Regions from separate parts of the Homo sapiens genome. Here regions 1 and 2 are each linked to region 3. The links are contacts of gene promoters, found by promoter capture Hi-C in blood cells and fetal thymus (Javierre and others, 2016). All regions are on one chromosome and are shown on one strand. Each heading gives the region's core, a stretch centred on a gene start or on the middle of the fragment in contact. The rest is flanking DNA. Distances are from core to core; before and after follow the strand shown. Region 1 overlaps PCMTD1 (protein-L-isoaspartate (D-aspartate) O-methyltransferase domain containing 1). Region 2 holds the start of RB1CC1 (RB1 inducible coiled-coil 1). Region 3 holds the start of UBE2V2 (ubiquitin conjugating enzyme E2 V2).

Evidence for each region. The method cuts DNA at HindIII sites, captures the fragments that hold promoters and counts their contacts. A CHiCAGO score of 5 or more calls a contact.
Region 1: a fragment that was not itself captured here is called in contact with the fragment with the promoter of UBE2V2 in region 3 in 1 of 17 cell types (naive CD8 T cells); the score reaches 6.9 in naive CD8 T cells.
Region 2: a contact is called between a fragment that was not itself captured here and the fragment with the promoter of UBE2V2 in region 3, in 2 of 17 cell types (total B cells and naive CD8 T cells). The highest score is 11.0, in total B cells.

What each region holds. Positions count from the first base shown.
Region 1 is chr8:51,894,181-51,896,880 of GRCh38, forward strand. The region is part of intron 1 of PCMTD1 (protein-L-isoaspartate (D-aspartate) O-methyltransferase domain containing 1); the gene reads right to left. Among named protein-coding and RNA genes, the nearest start is that of PCMTD1, 3.5 kb to the right of the region's middle. The HindIII fragment of the contact is 850 bases long and covers 826-1,675 here.
Region 2 is chr8:52,713,518-52,716,217 of GRCh38, forward strand. It overlaps RB1CC1 (RB1 inducible coiled-coil 1), which reads right to left and starts at 918. Exons shown (of 24, transcript NM_014781.5): 1 at 558-918. RefSeq lists silencers at 373-842, 873-1,042 and enhancers at 1,103-1,412, 1,433-1,482. The HindIII fragment of the contact is 3,580 bases long and covers 1-2,700 here.
Region 3 is chr8:48,006,993-48,009,692 of GRCh38, forward strand. UBE2V2 (ubiquitin conjugating enzyme E2 V2) reads left to right here and starts at 1,439. Exons shown (of 4, transcript NM_003350.3): 1 at 1,439-1,478. The coding sequence starts at 1,463. RefSeq lists silencers at 1,145-1,404, 1,635-1,834. The HindIII fragment of the contact is 2,629 bases long and covers 1-2,216 here.

The sequences.
Region 1 (2,700 bases), core at 1-2,500, 3.9 Mb after region 3:
AAAAATTCCAAGAAATGGAAATGCATAAGAAATCAAAAAAGTAAAGTAAAACTGAAGTTTACATTCTTTTTGGAACAGCTGCTGGGACAGAAAGAATGTAACTTAATATTTTAAACTAAAACAAGAAATAAGTTTTGAAAGGGGCACTGAAGTCAAATAATGCAGTTTTGAAAGGCAACACTGAGGAACTCGGGCTTTCTTCCAGAGTGGATCAGGAGCCACTCAGCAGAGGCACAGTGGTCAAGAACACAGACTTGGAAGAAGACATGGTTGGGATTCAAATCCCAGAGCTCTTCTACCTACTAACAACTCCTTCAAGATCATGAAGTTCCAATTTCTTCACCTGTAGAATGGGGATAATATAAATTATAATGACCACATGAGAACAAAGGATTCAGCACACTGACTGACATAAACACCCAAGTGGGTTTGTTTTGTTTGCTTGTCATCAGGCAGGGAACATGATCAGGACTACATTTAGGACAATTAATAAGCAGTATTCACAATGAATGACAAACCTAGAGATTAATGTCTCTTGCTGTGTATATGGCTGCTGGAAGAACTGAAGAAAGATAGAAGAAATCAGGAACCACAATGCAGTAAGATGACAAAAAAAAAAAAAATTCTAAGAAAAGGAGAGAGAGAAGAACCAAGGATGACCTTTTGATTTTGAGTCTAGATGACTAAGAAAATGCAAAGGTCATTAATATAAACAAGCAAGAAGAATCAGGCTTGCAAAAAAAGTTTAATTCTGAATCTACTGATTCAAGATTACAAAATGACAGCTACTAAGTTGATCAGGGAGAACAACATTGGCAAATCTGAAGCTTGGGAATGAAAATAAGGCTGATGATACACAAGTGGAAGCCTGAGCAAAGAGGGTGAGGGGAATGAGCAGTTGAAACCACGGATCTGTGTGGGATTGCCAAAGAAGAGAACAAACTCTAAAAAGGAAAAGAACTAAACCTAAGGTAACACCTACAGGCAACATCTATCTATACTTCAGGAAGTGAGAGAGAAAAACAAACAAAGGCCCCAAGAAGGGAGAGTTGGAGATGCCAGTTTGTGAAAGTCACCAAGACAGACCTTCACAGCATTTCACATTCTACAGCTCTTTCAATGCTCATTATAACTTTAGATTATAAACTGAACTGACTTCATCAATTGATAACATGATTATCATTAAAGGTTTTTAAGAGCCTGCAAGTTACTGAAGAGTGCTCAGTAGAAAACACAGAAGAGTGTTTTATGCAAATTAGTTTTTAAACTCCAAGAATATTTTAAGCTCTAGAAATCATACCTGATGCATGTCTTGTATCAAGACATAAAGTTGAGTTATTTCTGGCTACCCGTGCATAATGTTCCAAAAAGGATTTTCAGGTTAAACTGGAAAATATGCTATGTCTTCCCATCAGCAATACCTCTCATTAATTTTTGAGAATACACATACACATAGTGTTTGATTCACAATCCTTCCCCACTTCAACAGCTGAAAAAATCTTACCATATTCTAAAAACGTCTTTAGGGGGCTGAAATATTTCTGTGTCACCTAATTATAAAACCCACTCACATCCAACATCCAATGTTACGTTGACCGAGAGATAATCAATGGCAGATACGCCATTTAGGTATGAATCCAATTATCATCCTTAACAATTGCCAGTAAAATGTCAAAGCTTTTCCTGTATTTTTGGTTTCTTCTCAAATACAGATTACAACTGACCATACTTTATTAATGTTAGTATTTGTCCCATTTCTTTTTTTTTTTTTTTTTTTTTTTTTGAGACAGAGTCTCACTCTTTTGACCAGGCTGGAGTGAAGTGGAGCGATCTTGGCTCACTGCAACCTCTGACTCGCAGGTTCAAGCGACTCTCCTGCCTCAGCCTCCCGAGTAGCTGGGATTACAGATGCCCACCACCAAGCTCGGCTAATTTTTGTATTTTTAGTAGAGACGGGGTTTTGCCATGTTGGCCAGGCTGGACTCGAACTCCTGACCTCAGGCGATCCACCTGCCTCAGCCTCCCAAAGTGCTAGGATTACAGGCGTGAGCCACTGCCCCCGGCCGCCACATTTCTTCCAACTATGTAGTTGCCACATCTAGTGGAAAATGAAAAAAGATTAATAAACCATATTATGACACCCTATTGTCTGTCATTATGCATTTTAAGTGACTACCAAATATTTTAAAATACCAATAATTACATAAGTAAATTTTAATCCTTTTAGACTTTTTTAGGGCCCTCTTGGTATTCTTTCCAGCACACTAATTTACAAAAAAGTTCAACTACGTTCATAAAAATGTTTACTGATATGAGACTATCCTTCCGAGTTTGTAAGCAATACGCAGCTGTGAGAGCTACAATTTACAATAACATCCCAATTTACCATGGCACCCAGCAGTGTCTAAAGTAACACAAATCCCCATCTTCTTGGTTAACAGCATAAGATCAAGGAGTTTAAAATTTTAGTAATATGCCACCAGAAACCTCATCTAAAAAAATACCATTATAGTTTCACACTATATTCTCTAGACTATTTTAAATGCATGTGATTACATTCATGTAGTTATTCTGTAAGGAACATTTCAAAGAAAGCAGAAAAAACCGTAAGGGCAACAATTTTTCGTTCATAGGAGGTAAAACAAGAGCAGAAAACACAGGTTCTTGGATTAAGCACTCCTGAATATAAACACGCACTAT
Region 2 (2,700 bases), core at 108-2,607, 4.7 Mb after region 3:
CCGATCCTCGCACTCTGGGGTCGGGACAAAGACATCATCTCTCCGTTCCTCCCATTCGGTGAGCTTCGTTCGGCCTCGGCCAAACTCCACTCTCCCGTTTCTCGAGTCCAACACAGAATTAAGGGCTGATCCCTGGCAGCGATGAGCACAAGTCAAGATGCGTCTTGGGAGGTTCGGACGTCCCTCGCCCTCGGCCACTCCGGCAACTAGGCCGGGTACTAAGCGGCAGCGCAGAGGGAGGGATCCCAAGGCTCCGGCCGAGGAAGCCGCAGGCAGCCCCGCAGCACGAGTCCGACCCACACCTCCGGCAGCCTAGTGGAGCATCGACTCGAACCGCTTTTGTCTCCACAGGGGCTGTCGCGCCGGGAAAGCGGCCAGTGGGCAACACCTGCCGGGGCGGGAGGCGCCGGGGCCCTCCCGTGCACACACCTGCGCGTGGGCCGGGCTCAGGCCGACCGGAACCCTGGACCATGCGACCCCGGCCCACCGTGCCAGGGCCCGCCGCGCGACCGCTGTGCCAGATGGGGGAAGGGGACGCGGGCGGCGGCGACACTTACCCGGCAACGCCTCCTCCTTCGCCGGCGGCAGCAGCAGAGCCAGCGACCCCCGGCACCATCTTCCGCCGCCGCCTAGTCCTCGGCAGCGGTTACCAACCGCCCATTCGGCACCGCTAAGCCGACACAACCGCCGGCGTCCCGGGCGCCCGCCCGCCGCGGCCCCGAACTCTAGGAGGCAGGGAGGGGTCCGGGCGGACAAGGACGCGAGCAGGCCCCTCGGCTCTGGGTCTGGGGCCGGGGGACAGAAGGCCGCGGCCTGTCAGAGCCGAGGGGCCCAGGCGACTGGGGGATTCTGAGGCAACGCCGAGGGCTCGGCAGGGCCGCGGACACCGCCGCGGCTTGGTTTGTTATTGTCGACTCCGTCTCTTCCTCCGCGGCGCATGCCGGGAAACGGCCTGCCGGGGGAGGGGCGCGCCTGGAGGCGCAGAGAGGCGTCTACGCAGGTCCGGAAGTCGGCAGCCTGCCGGGAAGGGGGCGGCCCCGCCTCCGGCTCTCCGGCCGGCAGGTTGGCTGTCCTGGCCTGACCCTGGGAGACTCCGCTGGGGCCGCCTGTTATGGTGCTAGCTGCCGTCCCGGTGCGTACTTTCCCAAGGTGAATTTGACCTTCTTTGCGACAGCTAGGCCCTGACTAAGGTCGACCCACCAAACACTGGATCGTCCCCAGGCGAAAGAGAGCTTGTTCCCCTCAGCCTGTCGCGGAGGAGCGGAGCCAATCGAGGGTCTGGTGTCCCCGTCGCCTCTCCAGGGGCAACCTGCGGACTAGGCCAAGGTCTGTAACAGGATAACGTACCAGCGCCTGGCCCAGGCGTTCCTGCCGCCACCTCCCCGCATATCCGGACCGCCGGGACTGCACGCAGCTGGCAAGCGTCCCCCTGTTAACTCTGCAAGGGTGGGGCGGCACCATTTCTCAGACCAGGTAAGGCAAGAAAACATGCAAGAGAGAAGAGAGGGAAGCCTAGGCCAATCGGAATGAAAATGTAAACGCCACAACCACGTTTTCAGCTTTACAAATACTGAATCTTGTAGTGGGTCTAGTGGGTTAGGGGTTAGCATGAGCACCCTAATGGTTGGGAGACAGTTTCAGGGGACTCTTGCATTTGTGAAGATGATCAGTCACAGGCAATGACTTGAAGCCACGAGGCTTGAATATTAAAATCTGATGAGCAGATGTTACACGTAGAATAATTACATAATAGTTCTCAAATTCCTGTTATATCCAGGAATATCTGGTATGAGTGAAAACTTGGAGGTGCCTTCTCTAAAGTCATCAGGAATTCTGAGTTGTGTTTGTAAAAATAGGAGGCACAAGAGGGCACCAAACTGAACAAAATGTTAGGTGGAAACTGAAAAACGTTGGTTAGCATGAACAATTTCAGTTTTCAGTCACACTGACCAGTATCTGTAAGTTAGGATTGAGATGGGCTTGTTTTATTTATTTACTTTTAAATTTGTGCTGCTACATATCCCAAACAAATGTGGTCTTTATCATCACTGGCAAGCCATTTTACTTATTGGTTAAGCTGGAATTTTATTACACCACCCCAGCAAGATAGAGGAGAAAAGCGAAAATTAAGTAGTAAATGGTTATTATGCCTTAAGGGAAGGTGTGAACTGGCAAGACAAAAGAGCCAAATTTAGTAGTAAAGCATAGTCATCAGCACACAGAAAATAAGTGGTGAGGAGGAGTTTGGCCAGAAAATTGGCTAAGAAAAATGGCAGTATGACCAAGAATGAAAAGAAAAAGAAAGAAAAGAAAAACTGCAGTATGAGGCCTGTAAAGAACGTATTGGTACTTGCACTTCCTCTTATTAGTGACATTCATTATTACAAATATAACCCAATTTAGAATGTAAAAATCTTGCTGGAGCTCGGTGCAGTGGCTCACACCTGGAATCCCAGCACTTATGGGAGGCCGAGGCAGGAGGATTGCTTGAGCCCAGGAGTTGGAGACCAGCCTGGGCAACGTAGTGAAACCCCTTCTCTACAAAAAATACAAAAATTAGCTGGGCGTGGTGATGCACACCTGTGGTCCCAGTTACTCAGAAGGCTGAGGTGGGAGAATCAGTTGAGCCCAGGAGGTCGAGGCTGCAGTGAACCATCATGGCACCACTGCACTCCTAGCCTGGACAACAGATTGTTGCCC
Region 3 (2,700 bases), core at 189-2,688:
GCCTCAGCCTCCCGAGTAGCTGGGACTACAGGGGCCTGCCACCATGCCTGGCTAATTTTTTGTATTTTTTTTTTTTTAGTAGAGACAGGGTTTCACTGTGTTAGCCAAGATGGTCTTGATCTTCTGACCTCGTGATCCGCCCGCCTCCGCCTCCCAAAGTGCTGGGATCCATGCCCGGCCAAAAGCATTCCCTTTGAAAGCCGGCACAAGACAAAGATGCCCTCTCTCACCACTCCTATTCAACATAGTATTGGAAGTTCTGGCCAGGGCAATCAGGCAAGAGAAAGAAATAAAGGGTATTCAATTAGGAAAAGAGGAAGTCAAATTGTCTCTGTTTGCAGATGACATGATTGTATATTTAGAAAACCCCATAGTCTCAGCCCCAAATCTTCTTAAGCTGACAAGCAACTTCAGCAAAGTCTCAGGATACAAAATCAATGTGCAAAAATCACAAGCATTCCTATACACTAATAACAGACAAACAGAGAGCCAAATCATGAGTGAACTCCCATTCACAATTGCTACAAAGAGAATAAAAATACCTAGGAATACAACCTACAAGGGATGTGAAAAATCTTTTTTTTTTTTTTTTTTCAGTTTTATGTAGAGACTAGGTATCACTATGTTGTCCAAGCTGGTCTCAAAGTCTTGGGTTCAAGCCATCCTCCTGCCTCAGCCTCCCAAAGTGTTAGGATTACAGAAGTGAGCTTCGGCGCCCAGCCTGTATTACTTTCCTTTTTCTTTCTTTCTTTTTTTTTTTTGAAATGGAGTCTCCCTCTGTTGCCCAGGCTGGAGTGCAGCGATTTCTGCTCACTGCAGCCTCACCTCTTGGGCTCACGTGACCCTCCCACCTCAGCATCCCTAGCTGTTCAAATTTATTGTCCAACTCTTTTGAATCGTTTATCAACGCAAATCTGTCAATGCCCACTTATTTTTATTTATTTTTTTGAGGCGGAGTCTCGCTCTGTTGTCCAGGCTGGAGTGCAGTGGCGCAATCGCGGCTCATTGCCCCTCCGCCTCCCCGGTTCAAACGATTCTCGTGCCTCAGCCTCCCAAATAGCTGGGATTACAGGCGCGCGCCACCACGTCCGGCTAATTTTTGTATTTTTAGTAGAGACGGGGTTTCGCCATGTTGGCCAGGCTGGTTTCGAACTCCTGACCTCGGGTGATCCGATCGCCTCGGCCTCCCAAAGTGCTGGGATTACAGACGTGAGCCACCGCGCCCGGCCCTCATGAACTTATTCTTTAGCGTTTCATTTTGAGAGCGGGATTCACAAGGGAATTGCGGAAACAGCAGCGAGGCCCCGCGACCCCTCGGCCCACGTGCGCGCTGTCCCTCGGGTCGCCCCGCGCCCGCCGGGGGCGGAGTCCGCTGTGACGCGTGCAGGGCGGCGCGCTCCCGGAAGTGACGCGCGACGGTTCGTGCGTGCGTGCGGGCGGCTGCGTCGGGCTGCAGGAGAAGATGGCGGTCTCCACAGGTCGGTTCCCGGGCCGGGCTGCGTGATTTTCCGCTCCGACCCGGCTCTGCCCCTCCGTCTGCTGCTGGCGCCCGAGCGCTGACCGTGCGGGAGAAGCCCGAGTGCGCTGTCTCGAATGCCGCGCTCTCCGCAGAGCGTAGCCTGGGACCGGGTGGGACCGGCGCCGAGGCCCCGGCGGCCGTCGGGTTGGCGGGTCGTGCTCGCGCGTCGGCCGCGCGCCGGCGGGCTGGGGGCGGGGTGGCTCCCGCGCGGGCGCCCCCGTAGGTTCCGGCGGGCGCGGGTCCGAGTTGTAGGCTGAAGGCTCTACGGGAGGGAGGCGAGGAGGCCCAAGGTGGGCGGGTGTCAACCTCCGGCACCGAAGATGGGTCAGGCCAACCGGCACCGAAGATGGGTCAGGCCAAGAGGTGTCCTGGATCAGAGTAGGGGTCCCATTCCTTTGGACTCTCCTTGACATGGGTTGGGGAGTAGAGGACGATTGCTCCTTAAAATAAGAGCGAGAGGATCTTTCTTACCTGACTGAATACGTGTGATCTTTTTATTATTTATGAGGAAAACTGCAGTGCAAACAAAATAAAAGACCAGAGCAAGATGAAAGCTAATTGAAGAACAAGTGGTTTCTTAGATAAGCTGTTCAACTCCTCTTTCCTACTGAATACAATGTTTGGTTTCCTGTGAGCACACAAGTATTAACGTTGAGGTTTTAGACATTAGACCATTTCAGAAATGTTAAAAACGTTAAGCTTTAGTTTACATTTAAAAATGTTAACCCGTGTGATCTGCCTTTTTCTTTTCTTTTCTTTTTTTTTTTTTTTTTGAGTCAGAGGCTCACCCTGTTGCCCAGTTGGAATGCAGTGGTGTGATCTCGGCTCACTGCAACCTCCACCTCCCAGGTTCAAGTGATTCTCCTGCCTCAGCCTCCCAAGTAGCTGGGATTACAGGCGCGTGCCACCAGGCCCGGCTAATTTTTGTATTTTTAGTAGAGACGGGGTTTTGTCATGTTGGCCAGACTGGTCTCGAACTCCTGACCTCAGGTGATCCGCCCACTTCGGCCTCCCAGAGTGCTGGAATTACAGGTGTGAGCCACCGCGCTCGGCCTGATCTGCCTTTTCCTAGTCTTCGTTGAAACAAGAGTATAGAGCAGTGTGATTTAATAGTTTATGCCATCATTGCATAATAAAATGAATTTTCAAATCTATATGTACTGAAATGGAAGGCTTTGAAT